2 separate regions of the Homo sapiens genome follow, and region 2 is linked to region 1. The links are contacts of gene promoters, found by promoter capture Hi-C in human tissues and cell types (Jung and others, 2019). All regions are on one chromosome and are shown on one strand. Each heading gives the region's core, a stretch centred on a gene start or on the middle of the fragment in contact. The rest is flanking DNA. Distances are from core to core; before and after follow the strand shown.

What was found. Contacts are between HindIII fragments. The study calls those that stand out against the background at their distance.
Region 2: a fragment that was not itself captured here is called in contact with the fragment with the promoter of AGRP in region 1 in 2 of the 25 tissues and cell types used here (bladder and spleen).

What each region holds. Positions count from the first base shown.
Region 1 is chr16:67,480,611-67,488,195 of GRCh38, forward strand. It overlaps AGRP (agouti related neuropeptide), which reads right to left and starts at 2,937. Exons shown (of 4, transcript NM_001138.2): 1 at 2,907-2,937; 2 at 2,659-2,791; 3 at 2,415-2,500; 4 at 1,961-2,208. The coding sequence starts at 2,788. The coding sequence ends at 2,026. ATP6V0D1-DT (ATP6V0D1 divergent transcript) reads left to right here and starts at 784. Exons shown (of 4, transcript NR_184227.1): 1 at 784-909; 2 at 3,500-3,718. It overlaps ATP6V0D1 (ATPase H+ transporting V0 subunit d1), which reads right to left and starts at 547. Exons shown (of 8, transcript NM_004691.5): 1 at 347-547. The coding sequence starts at 476. RefSeq lists enhancers at 98-337, 498-547 and a silencer at 658-827. The HindIII fragment of the contact is 1,388 bases long and covers 2,049-3,436 here.
Region 2 is chr16:67,587,740-67,595,324 of GRCh38, forward strand. The region is part of intron 2 of CTCF (CCCTC-binding factor); the gene reads left to right. Among named protein-coding and RNA genes, the nearest start is that of CTCF, 29 kb to the left of the region's middle. The HindIII fragment of the contact is 6,285 bases long and covers 1,337-7,585 here.

The sequences.
Region 1 (7,585 bases), core at 1,687-4,186:
TCTCGGGCTACGTCAGGGTAAAGAGGTTTGTATGGCCACACCTCGCACCGACCAACTACCCCCGAAACACCCCCTCCTCCCAAACTGCAGGGTGAGCACAGCGAGAGAAAAGGTGGCCCAAGCAGAGGCGAACAACTGCGGTTCTTAAAGCCTTGTTTGAGTTTGGGCCCGCGCCGAGCCACAGCTAGAGGTAGATCCCGCTCCTGCGCGTCCGCTATCAGCCCCAGGATTCCCAGAGAGGCCTCTCAGGCCCTTCAAGACCCCCCCTTCCGGCTTCCCGGCCTACACCTCTGAACCCTCAGGCCCCGGACAGCCTCTATCCCCGCCTTTCGCGGCCCCGGCTCACCCTCTAGCGTCTCGCACTGCACCAGGTTGAGGTAGTCGGCCTGGCTGAGCACCCCGGCCTTCAGGCCGCGCACCAGTCCCTCCAAGTAGCCATTGTCCACGTTAAAGTAAAGCTCCGGGAAGAACGACATGGCTGCTGCGGGAGCGGCGGGACCGGAGAACCAGGACCGGCCGGCACGAATCGCGACTCCCCAGGTCAGCTGACGCTGCGTCCTCAGCGGGCTGTCAAGTGCGTCAGGTGACGCGCAAGCGCCTCACGTGACCATAAGGGGGCGTGGCTCTGAGCGGTGCCCGGCTTCCGGGTGGCTGCGCGGAAGCGCGGTGCAGGCGTGGGCTGGCCCTGCGGCGCCTGCGCGCTAAAAAGAGGAAGTTTGAGGCCGGCCGCTTGGTGGCGCCTGTGGCCGCAGGGATTTGACTGGGCCTTCTCTAGCTTTCCCCGGTTTGCTGCACTTGACGCTGCAGGGCGGGCGGGGTAAAGAAGGGAGCGAGCCCTTCTCAAGCTTGGAAAGTTTCCAGACTGCTGGGCCAGCCTCCTCCCCAGAGGGAAACTGAGGTCCGATTGAGGTAGGAGAATAGGGTCTGGAGGCGGGGAACTTGAGGCCAATACGTGCTGAATTCTGAAGCTGAATCAAGGGAAAACACCAAGGTCTGGGGGCAGGGAACCGGAGGCCAACTAAGGCGAGCTTACTAAAGCTAAACCAAAAAGAAAAACCCCATCTCCCCATGTCCAAGTAACAAAGGATCAAAGGCCACTGTCCCCACAACCCTCCCCCTTCCACCACGTCTCAGTTGAAAGGGAGAGTGCCTTGGATTGGCTGCGGGCCAAGCACGGGCCATCCCTTCATCTGCATAGGGCGCCAATTCACCTTAGCCCCATTTATGCCTTGTGTTCCATTATTGGAACGCTAAGCATATGGGAGTTATTTATATCCTACTGCTCAAGGTCATGGCCAAGGTCTGATTGCAAAAATTCAAAAAGATTGCAACCTCAGGCATAAATGGATTAATTAGCCATGGACCAAACCCTTCATCCAGATAAGGGGTAACGGACAGGGACCGCAAAAGGAGTACTTAAAACCCGGAAAACTTTGTAACTGAGCCCCTTCAGCCTCTTGCTCAGGCCCACTCCCACCCTGCGTAGTGCTTTCTCGCTTTAACAAATCCCAGCTGTCTGCTTCCTTCCTGTGTGTCATTCGTTTGTTACTTTCTGGGTTTTGTTCAATTCTTTGTTCGAAACGCTAAGGACCTGAACAACGCACACTCCTGGCCTTCCCTCTGGTAACAGGATGAGGGGCAGGCTTTGCGTGGAAGTAGCAGCAAGCCCTGGAGCCTAAGGCTTATTTGTTAGCCAGGAGTGATAGCCCCTGTGCCACGCTGCGTCCTGCGTTCCCCGCACTTGCTGTACAAGATTTTCGAAAGCTGGAGTGCGGCTCTTCTCTATTTTTCCCAGGGGCACCAGGACCCCTAAAAGCGCCCGTGTATGTGCCTCCTATGATAGGGTAGCCCAGGCCCTGGGATAAGAGTATGTGTGGTTTCTTGGCTTGGTGACACTCCCACCCCCTCCATGAACCCTCCCTCCTTTGACGGCCACGTTTGAAATAACCACAGCCTTGGGGTTGGTCCCATCCTTTATTCGAGTTTCCTTGCCCCTACCCTAGCCCCGACCCTGACGTTGGCCAGCTAGGTGCGGCTGCAGGGATTCATGGCAGTACCCAGCTTGCGGCAGTAGCAGAAGGCATTGAAGAAGCGGCAGTAGCACGTGGCACATGGGTCACAGCAAGGCACCTGCTGTCCCAGGCAGGACTCATGCAGCCTTACGCAGCGACGTGAGGAGCGGGGCTCGCGGTCCTGCAGGTCTAGTACCTGCAGGGGTGGGGAACCAGCACAGGCCTCTAAAGACAGATCCAGGGATCTTACCTGTCCCAACCTGTGCAGGATGGCAGTGGAGCATGGGAAGGGGTGGTCGGTAGTGTCGTCGCTGGTGAGGGAGTTTGGAGCTGGGGAGAGGAGCTAATACCCAATGCCCCCTCCCAAGGGCCACCACCTTACCCTTTTCCCTGAGCAGTTACCTCTGCCAAGGCCTGAGCCTCCTGCAACAGATCCTCTTCTGCCTGTTCTGCAGTTGTCTTCTTCAGTGGGGCCCGCAGGCCCAGGCCTGGGGCAGAGGATGTGAGGGCAGGAACCCCCATGCACAAAGCACCCACCTCCCAGGGGAGGGTTTGGGAAGGGAGAAAGAGGGTTTATGCCAGGGGAGACTATTTGTGGCCAGAGGGTATTCAGGCCCCGCCCAGTCCCACCCTTGCTCACACTGACCTGGGAGCTCTGGGAGCAGGGCCTGGTCAGGCCTTCTGATGCCCTCCATGGGGGCCAAGCCCATCTGGGCTCCTCGCGTGGCAGGCAGTGCCAGCAGCAGGGCACAGCTCAGCACCGCTGCGGTCAGCATGGCCTGGCTCAGCAGGAAGATGTACCACTTAGTCCCTCCTTATCCTTGGAGTCCCCTCTAGGTGCCCAGATAGAGACCCCACAGAGAGGAGGAGTCCCTGCCCAACCTGAGGACTCACCTCTGCCTCCGGGATTCTTGCCTAGAGAGTTCCCGGCCACCCCGTGCCCTTGGCTTATATGGCAGGGCCTAATGAAGGGCCACACGTGACTGATCCCTGCAGCCAGGCCGTGAAGGACCCTTCCTGGAGGGTGGGGGCACAGTTCAGGCCCTCACTCCCTGAACCTGAGCCTTTTGTTCTACAAGAGGAGTGCCTATCTCCAATTTGGGGTGAGGTTTCCAGGAGCCGATTAAAATTTGGGAGCAAGAGAGGGTGCCCAGGGTCCACAAATTTCCACAGGACAGGGACCTAGGAGCTGAGCAGGGCTAGAACCATTAGCAATAACAAGGCAGGCGGCCCTGAAAGCTTAATTTAATTTGTGGCCCCAGAGATGCTTACTCAACCCCTATGTGGCATGTTGTTTCCTGTGCTTCCAAGAATTCGGGTCAAGGACATTGGAGCGGGTGATGGGCCAATGGCCACTGTTGGGCAGGGGTAGGTGCAGAACCAGAACCTGGGTTTCTTTGGAGGGAAAGGGGAAGGAAAAGCCCACCTAACCAATCCTAGGCCCTCCTGACTACATTTCTGGTCCTCCCCTCCCTTTCTCCCTCCAGGTTTCTCCAAGACCGCCCACTCCTGCTCCTGTCCCCAAACCCCTTTCTGCCTAGGGTTCCTGGAAGCCAAGGAAACAGAACGAACTGTTCCCTGGGTGGGCGAGCCACTGCAGAGTACAAAGCTTTCAGGCCGCCTGCCTCATTAGCACTAATGGCTGCTCCCTTCCGCCCTGTGTCGTCAGGACTGTCTATGCCTGGTCTCATCAGCACAAGGCTGGGGTAAGGACTGCCCTTTTGTGGAGATGGCAGGACATACAGGACCCTGCTGCCCCTGCCTTCCCTCACCCCACTGCAGAGCTGTTTATCACACACGTGTCCATCTGGGAAAGGAATGCAGGCTGAATCAGCTTTGAGAGGATCGCAAGGCCCCAGTGCACAAACTGGGTTGGCACAAGGCAGTGGAAAAAAGATGAAGGGGGCCAGGTATGGTGGCTCACACCTGTAATTCCAGCATTTTGAGAGGCCAAGGTGGGAGGATCACAAGGCCAGGGGTTTAAGACCAGCCTGGGTATCATGGTGAGACCCCGTTGCTACAAAAAATAAAAAAATAGCTGGGTGTAGTGGTGCATGCCTGTAGTAGAGGCTGAGGTGGGAGGATGGCTTGAGCACAGGGATTCAAGAGTGCAGTGAGCTATGACTGCATCACCACACTCCAGGCTGAGCGACAGAGCAAGATCCTGTCTCAAAAAGAAAAGAAGATAAAGGGTGGCCAGGCACGGTGGCTCACGCCTGTAATCCCAGCATTTTGGGAGGCCAAGGTGGGCGGATCACTGGAGGTCAGGAGTTCAAACCAGCTTGGCCAATATGGTGAAACCCTATCTCTACTAAAAATACAAAAGTTATTCAGGCATGGTGGCACATGCCTGTAATCCCACCTACCCGGGAGGCTGAGGCAGGAGAATCACTTGTAACACGGGAGGCAGAGACTGCAGTGAGCAGAGATCGCACCACTGCACTCCAACCTGGGTGACAGAGTGAGACTCCATCTTAAAAAAAAAATGCTATTTAAAATGAAATGAAGCAATCCATACTCCCAACATTTATATATACTGGGACATCCAAGAAATTAAAATCACACCTCATTATGTCTTTTTCTTTGAGTCAGGGTCTCACTCTGTCACCCAGGCTGGGCCTGGTCAGCACCCATGCTATGGAGAGCTCTTCATGGTCTGGTGTGGACAGAGTGGGAGTGGAAGATCTCCTCCCACACAGGTGCTCAGTGTCTTACCTCACCTACGGGCAGCAGCTGTCTTCACCTGAGTGTGTGCACACAGGTGTATCAGCCCCATGGGCAGTGATGGACGAGGGCTGAGGCACTCACAGGGCAGCCCATGCCCCGGTCAGGTCCAGTGGGGGAGATATCAAGAAAACCCAGCGCCAAAATGCAATGAGCTGTGATCGCGCTACTGCACTCCAGCCTGGGCGACAAAGCAAGTTGCCGTCTCAAAAAACAAAAACAAAACTAAACAAAAAAAAAAAAACGGCCAGGTGTAGTGATTCACACCTTCTTGAGCCCAGGAGTGGCAACATAGTGAGACTCTGTCTCTACCAAAAAAAAAAAATTTAATTAGCTGAATGTGGTGATGCACACCTGTAGTCCCAGCTACTCAGGAGACAGGGAGGAGGATAGCTTCGGCCCAGGAGATTGAGGCTGCAGTGAGCCATGGTGGTGGTGGCTCACGCCTATAATCCCAGCACTTTGGGAGGCTGAGGCAGGCAGATCACTTGAGCCTAGGAATTCGAGGCCAGCCTGGGCAACATGGCGAAACCCAGTCCCCATTAAAAAAAAAAAAAAAAAAGGCCAGGTGCGGTGGCTCACGCCTGTAATCCCAGCACTTTGGGAGGCCGAGGTGGGCAGATCACAAGGTCAGGAGATGGAGACTATCCTGCCTAGCACAGCAAAACCCCATCTCTACTAAAAATACAAAAAAAAAAAAAATTTAGCCGGGCGTCATAGCGGGCACCTGTAATCACAGCTACTTGGGAGGCTGAGGCAGGAGAATGGTGTGAACCCAGGAGGCAGAGCTTGCGGTGAGCCGAGATCGCGCCACTGCACTCCAGCCTGGGTGACTGAGCGAGACTCTCTCAAAAAAAAAAAAAAAAGTTTCACAGCCGGATGCAGTGGCTCACGCCTGTAATCCCAGCATTTTGGGAGGCCAAGGTGGGCAGATCATGAGGTCAGGAGTTCAAGACCAGCCTGGCCAACATGGTGAAGCCCCATCTCTACTAAAAATACAAAAATTAGCTGGGCATGGTGGCACGCACCTATGATCCTAGATACTTGGGAGGCTGAGGCAGGAGATTTACTTGAACTGGGACCCAGGAGGCGGAGGTTGCAGTTAGCTGAGATCGTGCCACTGCACTCCAGCCTGGTAACACTCCAGCCTGGTAACAGAGTGAGACTCCATCTCAAAAAAAAAAAAGTTTCACTATGTGGGTAATTTTACGGTAAGGAACCAGCCTGATATTCCCAGGACAATGCTTGTTGGCAAAAGGACCTTCAGAAATATGTGGCATGTTCTGGGAGGAGGATTTGGGAAACCCTGGGGGAGGCAGAGCCTCCTAAGTGAGGGTGTGGGCCCGGAACACAGGGACTCTGTGCAGGGAGGAGAAAGGGGAGAGTGTGCATGCTCGTTCCAGAGACCACATGAGGACAGAGAGGGGTGCTCAAACCCTCTCCCTTCTCTTCTTTTTCCTCCTGCAGTGTACTCCCCTTCAAGGGCCCTGTTCCCACCTTGTCCAGGGGAGAGGGTGGGGGGTGCAGGGAAAAACTGCAAGCACCCGTGGCTCTGTCAATCAGGGTTGATTTTGAAACCCCTACCCAGCCCATTGCCCCTGCCCCAGAGAGCACAGCCATGTGTTTCCTGTGAATCATCTGTAGGATTTCCTAAGGCAGAGGTTGCCTGGAGAGGCACGGTCTCCTCAGTCATTCAGGGAGAGGAGAAGATGGATGGGGGTTCTCTCGGGCTGGTGTATTGAGCCCTGAGCTAGAGAGGATCTGTGATTGTTAATTTTGTGTGTCAACTTGACTGGGCCAGGAATGCCCAGATATCTGGTTAAATATTATTTCTAGGTGTGCCTGTGAGGGTGTTTCCAGAATCATCCAATCCTTTGAGGGTTGGAATAAAACAAAAAGATAGAGAAAGTTGGTGCCGTGGCTCATGCCTGTAATCCCACCACTTTGGGAAGCCGAGGTGGGAGACTGTCTTGAGCCCAGGAGTTTGAGACCAGCCTGGGTAACATACAGAGACCCAATCTCTACAAAAAAATTTAAAAATAGCCAGACACAGTGGTGCACATCAGTGGTCCCAGTGACTCCAGAGGCTGAGGTGGGGAGGATCGCTTGATCCCAGGAGGTTAAAGCTGTAGTGAGCCATGATCACACTACTGCATTCCAGCTTATGCACATGAGACCTTGTCTTAAAAAAATAAAAAATTTTAAAAAAGAAAGAAAACTGGAAACAATCCAAATATCCATCAACAGCAAAATGGATAATAACATTATAGTGATATAATTGGGCCAGGCACAGTGGCTCACACCTGTAATCCTGGCACTTTGGAAGGCCGAGACGAGTGGATCACTTGAGCTCAGGAGTTCCAGACCAGCCTGAGCAACATGACAAAACCCTGTCTCTTCAAAAATTACAAAAATTAGCTAGACATGGTGGCGCAAGCCTGTAGTCCCAGCTTCTCGAGAGGCTGAGGTGGGAGGATCACTTGAATCCAGGAGGCAGAGGTTGCAGTGAACCAAGATTGCACCACTGCACTCCAGCATGGGTGACAGAGTGAGACCCTATCTCAAACAAACAAACAAAAGTATGTTTATATAATTGACAACTATACAGCAATGACAAGAGAATAAACTACTGCTACACACTGCAACATGAATGAATTGCACAGACATAAGGTTGAATGAAAGAAGCATGCTGCAGAAGAGTGAGGATGGAATGAATCCAGCCCTATGACATTCAGACCCAAGCAAAATTATAATAAATGGTGATAAAACACAACAGCGGTTAACTCTGGGAGGGTGGGAAATTATTGACTGAGGGGGGAAATGAGGAAAACATGTGAGGTGTTGGAAAG
Region 2 (7,585 bases), core at 3,229-5,728, 110 kb after region 1:
ATAGCAAGACCCCATTCTCCACAAAAAGGGGGAAAAAGACAAAAGACTCATTGAGTCATACATTCTGTTATTGCTTATGTGAGAATTATATTAGTTTTGAGATAGGCTTTGTAGTTTTTTTGTTGTTGTTTGTTTTGTTTTGTTTTGAGACAGAGTCACCCAGGCTGGGATGCAGTGGCGTAATCTTGGCTCACTTCAGCCTCTGCCTCCCAGGTCCAAGCAGTTCTCCTGACTGAGCCTCCTGAGTAGCTGGGATTTCAGGCGCCCACCACCACGCCTGGCTAATTTTTGCATTTTCAGTAGAGACGGGGTTTCACCATGTTGGACAGGCTGGTCTCGAACTCCTGACCTCAGGTGATTCACCTGCCTCGGTCTCCCAAAGTGCTGGGATTACAGGGATGAGCCACTGCGCCCAGCCAGGATCTATATTTTTTAAAGCTCACCAGAATAGGTTTGGGAATCATTGCTCAGGCAGCATCTGTCCAAAATTCATAAAAGTACCTGTTAGGTGTTGTGTAAATCCTGCATTATGTGTGTGTAGTTTATTCCTATTTTGTAATACATTTATTCAAGGTGATAGACTTGCTATAGATTCTCAGTCTTTCTCCTATTCCAAGTGATGAAAAGACTGTAGGGCTGCTCCAAAGACGGTCTAACTCTGAGCTGCTTCCAGGGATATGGGTCTGCAGTGTGGCAAGGAGGGATCTGGTGGTCTCTAACATAGTCTCTTATTAGGGGAACAGAAAGTGAAGCTTAGGTTACTCTACACCAGCAAAAGTGTCATTTGGGCTATGGAGAGCAGAGAGAGGACAGCATGTACTTGGGAGGCAGCCTCCTGTTGGTACTATGGCACCAATGTTGACTCACAGATGAGCATTATCTTTGTAAATGTTCAATAAGTGAAATAAACAGGCTACCCTTAACAGAGGGCTCTGAAACCACATCAAAATAATATATATTTTTTTGATACAGATTCTCACTCTGTACCCCAGACTAGAGTGCAGTGGCGTGAACTCAGCTCACTGCAACCTCCACCTCCTGGGTTCAAGCGATTCTCATGCATCAGCCTCCCAAGTAGCTGGGATTACAGGTGCACGCCACCACACCCGGCTAATTTTTGTATTTTTTTTTAGTAGAGACAGGGTTTCGCTATGTTGGCCAGGCTGGTCTCGAACTTCTAACCTCAAGTGATCCACCCGCCTTGGCCTCCCAACATGCTGGGATTACAGGCGTGAGCCACCGTGCCCAGCCTCAAAATAATAAATTTGAGGCCTGGGTGTAATGGCTCATGCCCATAATCCCAACATGTTGGGAGGCTGAGGCAGGAAGATTGTTTGAAGCCAGAAGCTCAAGACCAGCCGAGGCAACAAAGCAAGACCCCACCTCTACAAAATAATAATAATAAAATAGTAGGGTGCAGTGGTGCATGCCTGTAGTGTCCCAACTACCCAGGAGGCTGAGGCAAGAGAGGCACTTGATCCCAGGAGTTCAAGGCTGTGGCAAGCTACGATTACACTACTGCGCTCACTCCAGTCTGGGAGACAGAGCAAGACCGCACCTCTTAAAAAAGATAAATAATTATAATAATATTAATTTGAGATGGCTTAATACAGTTCCACTCAGTTACATTAAATTTCTTCTGCACAAAATTGGTCTAATTCCATACATATTTTTGTTATATACCGTTCACCTGTTCTGTAGTTTGTCAGGCAAGGTCCACCTCATCATTTGATATCCAGCTGTAGCAATTCCTTTCCTTAAAGCCCTTCACCCACTGAAGTCATCCTTTATGCCAGGGTGGTAGGAAGTATGTTAACCGTTGTTACAGTACTCATCACACTATATAGCTGCTATTTGTTTTTCTTTCTGCCTGCCAGACAAGGAGCTCCCTAAGAACTGAACCTCGTGCAGAAGACAAAGCTTATCTGGGAGTCAGCTTTAGCACAGTACTGATTGAAGACTACCCCTAGTACATATGCTTGTACTCTCTCTCCCTTCCCTGCCTCCAGCCCCAAATGACGCTTCAACACCTAATACCCGATTTCTTCCATTAACTTGAAAAAGAGCCTGGACGCGGTGGCTCACACCTGTAATACCGGCATTTGGGGAGACCAAGATGGCTGGATCACCTAAGGTCAGGAGTTTGAGACCAGCTTGGCCAACATGGTGAAACCCTATCTCTACTAAAAATACAAAAATTAGCCTGGCATGATGGTGGGCATTTGTAGTCCCAGCTACTCAGGAGGCTGAGACAGGAGAATCACTTGAACGCAGGAGGCGGCCGTTGCAGTGAGCCAAGATGGCGCCATTGCACTCCAGACTGGTCAACAAGAGCGAAACTCCGTCTCAAAAAAAGAAAAAGAACAGTTAGAACTTTTTTTTTTTTTTTTAAAGAAGAGAGTTCCTTTCTACAGCAGCGTCAGCCACCTTTTGGCGAAAGAATTATTGTCTAGCCTTTATTATTCTTTGTAGCAAAAGAACTCCTTCCCCTCCTCCCATACTAGTTTCACTGTTGCCATTACAAATATTTTATTAGTACGTATTTCCTAGATTCAAAGCTTCAGTGGGCTTTCTTCAAGTAGCTGTTAGAATAATTGTTTTGTTTTGACCATACCCTTTAATATTAACAAATGGGAGGGGAGATTGTTAACAAAATACTAGAATGCTCTTAACTTTTTTTTTAACTTAGAAGAAACATTTTCATTTCCCTTTTAATTATTTCTACACACACACATACAAAAAGCCCTGTTATTTTATAATTTTTTATTTTTATTTTTTTAGTAGAGACAGGGTTTCACTGTGTTAGCCAGGATGGTCTCGATCTCCTGACCTTGTGATCTGCCCACCTCGGCCTCCCAAAGTGCTGGGATTACAGGCGTGAGCCACCGTGCCCGGCCCTAACTGTTCTTTTAAAAATTGGCCGAGCACGGTGATCGGCCAGGTGTGATGGCTCACACCTGTAATCCTAGCACTTTGGGAGGCTGAGGAGGGTGGATCAGCTGAGGTCAGAAGCTCAAGCCCAGCGTGGCCAACATGGCGAAACCCTGTCTCTACTAAAAATACAAATATTAGCCGGACATGATGTTTGGTGCCTGTAATCAATCCCAGCTACTTGGGAGGCTGAGGCGGGAGAATCGCTTGAACCCGGGAGGTGGAGGTTGCAGTAAGCTGAGATGGCACCATTGCACTCCAGCCTGGATGACAGAGTGAGACTCTGTCTCAAAAAAAAAAAAAAAAAAAAAAATGCTGGACTGGGTGGCTCACACAAATGCTGTGATTACAGGCGTGAGCCACCGTAATCCCAGCACTTTGGGAGGCCGAGGCGGGCAGATCACTTGAGGTCAGGAGTTTGAGACTAGCCTAGCCAACATGATGAAACCCCATCTCTACGAAAAATACAAAAATTAGCTAGTCGTGGTGATGCGTGCCTGTAATCCCAGCTACTCAGGAGGCTGAGGCTGAGAATTGCTTGAACACAGGAGGCAGAGATTGCAGTGAGCCAAGATCTCACCACTGCACTCCAGCCTGGGTGACAGAGCGAGACTCTGTCTCAAAAAATAAATGAAAATTAATGTCAGAGAAGTGAGAGGTACAGTTGTGATTAAATAGATGAGTGCTTTTTCAGATAAAGGCTGCTTCCGTTCCCAGTCACTGTGAAAGAAATGGTCACTATTATTTTTCTGCTTCTCAGCCCAAGTTATTCTCCCAATTCAACTCCTCCTCATTCTTTATTGTAGTCTACAACTTTCCTGGTACTAGTTCACTGATACTTTGCTTTGATGTATTTTAAGCTCTCAGATAAGATGATGGCGTATATGTTTTCAGGAATAGCAGAGTAAAATGGTTATTTTGTTTAACTTTTAAACCTAGCTTTTACTCTAAAAGAGTTAATAACTTTTATTCGTTTTGGCTAGTGTCCTGCATCTAGTAAAAGTTACTTAGCTTTTCCTTTCATCCTCAGGAAAAACTGATTACTTTTTTTGGGGGGGGGCAGTAAGGGCACAGAGTCTTGCGCTGTCACTCAGACTGGAATGCAGTGGTGTGATGATAGCTTACTGCAGCCTGGGCTCAGGCGATCCTCCCGCCTCAGTCCCGAGTAGCTGGGACTACAGATGGATGCCATCATACCTAGCTAATTTTTTTTTTAATTTTTAATGGAGACAAGGTCTCACTATGTTGCTCAGGCTGGTCTTGAACTCCTGGGCTCAAACGATTCTCTTGGCTCTGCCTCCCCAAGTACTGGGATTATATGTGTGAGCCACTGTGCCCGACCTGATGACTTATAATTGCTTTTTTTCCCCTCCTTGTCCTAATGTCATTTAACATTCTGTATAGTGAGAATACCAGACTAAGCTTTTCAGTCAACATTTTTCTAATGTAAAGATCTATCGACTGGACGCAGTGGCTCACACCTGTAAACCCAGCACTTTGGGAGGATGAGGCGGGCACATCACCTGAGGTCAGGAGTTTGAGACCAGCCTGGCCAACATAGTGAAACCCTGTCTCTACTAAAAATACAAAAATTTGCTGGGCATAGTGGTGTACGCCTGTGATCCCAGCTGCTCAGGAGGCTGAGGCAGGAGAATTGCTTGAACCCTGGAGGCAGAGGTTGCAGTGGCCGGGATTGTGCCACTGCGCTCCAGCCTGGGTGGCAGAGCAAGAATCTGTCTAAAAAAATAAATAAGGCCAGGCACAGTGGCTCATGCCTGTAATCCCAGTAATTTAGGAGGCTGAGGTGGGAGGATCACCAGAGCTCAGAAGTTTGAGACCATCCTGACCAGTATGGTGAAACCCTGTCTCTACTAAAAATATAAAAATTAGCCGGCATGGTGGCATGCGCCTGTAGTCCCAGCCACTCGGGAGGCTGAGACATTAGAATTATTTGAGCCCAGGAGGCGGAAGTCGCAGTGAGCCAAGATCGTGCCACTGCACTGCAGCCTGGGTGACAGAGTGAGACTCCGTCTCAAAAACAACAACATCAAAAAAAGATACTTACAGAGGCCAGGCGTTGGTGACTGGCTCAACGTCAGTAATCTCAGCACTTTGGGAGGCCGAGGTGGGTGGATCACTTGAGCTCAGGAGTTTGAGACCAGCCTGGCCAACATGGTGAAACCCCGTCTCTACTAAAAATACAAAAATTAGCGGGGCACAGTGGCATGTGCCTGTAGTCCCAGCTACTTAGGAGGCTGAGGCAGGAGAATCGGTTGAACCTGGAGGCAGGGGTTGCAGTGAGCCGAGATCGCGCCACTGCATTCCAGCCTGGGTGACAGAGTGAAACTCCATCTGGAAAAAAAAAATTTATATATATATGTATAAATGTTTAATATATATTTTATATTTATATATTTGTATATCTTTTTTATATTTTAATATATGGTTTTTAATATATATTTTATACATATAAAGAGAAAGGTGCAAGGTATCTTCTGTTCTCTTAAAATTTTTTACAATTTCAACTTTTATTTTAGATTCGGGGGTACATGTCCAAGTTTTTTTGTGTACATGGGTATATTGTGTGATTATGAGGTTTGGGGGTACAATTGTTGCTCATCACCCAGGTAATGAGCATAGTACCCAATGATTAGTTTTGCAGCCCTTACCCCGTTTTCTCCCTCCCCCTCCTAATCCCTAAGGCCTATTGTTATGTTTATGTCCATGTGTACCCAGTGTGTAGCTTCCACTTGTAAGTGAGAACATGAGATACTTGGTTTTCTGTTCCTGCCTTAATTCGCTTAGGATAATGACCTCCAGCTGCATCTGTGTTGCTGTAAAGGACATTATTTCATTCTTTTTTATGGCTGTGCGTTCTCTGCCTTCTTATGATGTCTGAGGGTTCGTATCAACCTCTGTTAGGCCATTTGTTAGGTACCCTTCATGTTGACTTTCAGAATTTCTGTGGCTTGTGAAAGTTCATGGGGTCTTAGAGCTGCTAATGTATTTCTTACCAAGAGAATGCAGATAGACTTCTGATCTCCCCAGGAAATAAGTTGGGGTTTTTAGCAATCAGTTGCCCCTTATAATGGATAGTAAGCAGTATATTAAAAAGTTGTGGGTTTAGTTATAAAATAGACTGCTGGAAATCATTCTCTTCTACTGTCTTATTCTCAGTACACATGGATTATTCCTAGTATAATAACCAGTCTACTTAACTGACTAAACTCTGCAGTGGTGAGTATAAAAGGTTGTTTTGGTTGTTTTCCTTTGGAAATTGTCTGACATATTTGCTATGTAGTCATAATCATAGGTGATAAATTACTAAACCTTAATATCTTCAAAAATTAGTGTATTCACAATTAGCTTCCATTTTTACATGGCAGGATTTTAAAAAATCTAACCTGTAATTGTGTTTTTGGGAATTTTTATTTTTCTCTATTAAGAAGTGACACAGGCTGAGCATGGTGGTTTATGCCTGTAATCCCAGCACTTTGGGAGGCCACTTGAGCTTAGGAGACCAGCCTAGGCAATACAGTGAGATCCCATCTCTGTAAAATAAAATGAACCAAGTATGGTGGCACATGCTTGTAGTCCCAGCTACTTGGGAGGCTGAGGTAGGAGGATCACTTGAACCCAGGATGTCAAGGCTGTAGTGAGCCTTGATTGTGCCACTGCACTCCAGCCTGAGCGACAGGGTGGGACCCTGTCTCAAAAAAAAAAAAAAAAGGTGTAAGAATTGACACAGGCTAGTTGCAGTGGCTCATGCCTATATTCTCAGCATTTTGTGGGGGATGAAGTGGGAGGATCCCTTGAGCCCAGGGGTTCGAGAACAGCCTGGGCAACATAATGAAACTTTGTCTTTCAAAGTTTCTAAACTTTGCATCACTAAAAAAATAGTGATGCGTAAAAAAACTTCGCATCACTAAAAAAATAGTGATGCAAAGAGAGCAATAAAGGTAAATTCGTATACTTAGGCTTTCACTTAGCATATAAACAGTGTTTTGTTTTTCCATGTTCCCTTCCTGCTCTTGTCCTGTGCAGGAACCATCTATACCTGTTTCATCTGACAAAGTCAGTGAGAATTCCTGTTTGTCTAACACTGTTTTGTATCCATTGCTGTAGAGACTACAGAAACAAAAGGCATAGTTACTGCCCTTAAAAAGCTAATACTGGGGGAAAAACACATAGAACATTATGCTACAGTTAAAACTTGTGGTCAGTTTGTACTGGTCAAGGTTGAGATGACTTTGATTTAGAAGGTGACTTGAGCTGGGAAGGGACAAGACATCAGATACTGATATAGAAGATGCCCAGCAGGAAATAGTCAAAGGTGAGGTTGGGTGGGTGGAAGGGAATGGGAACAAACTGTACAGAGCTCTGGGAGCTAAGATGGAGAATTTGGACCTGATTCAGTCAGCATCACCAATCATGAATTTTTGGAATTTTTGAGCCTCATTTCAGGAAGGTTTAATGTGGCGTCAATATTCTGGATAGAACAAGACTGGCCAGCCTGCAAAGCTGTTCTGTCTCTTCCTACCACCCTCCCCCACCCTTCCTTTGACTCACCTCAAACTTCTGGGCCCAAGCCATCCTCCTGCTTCAGCTTCTCAAGTAGCTGGAACTATAGGTACAAACCACCATGTCTGGCTTG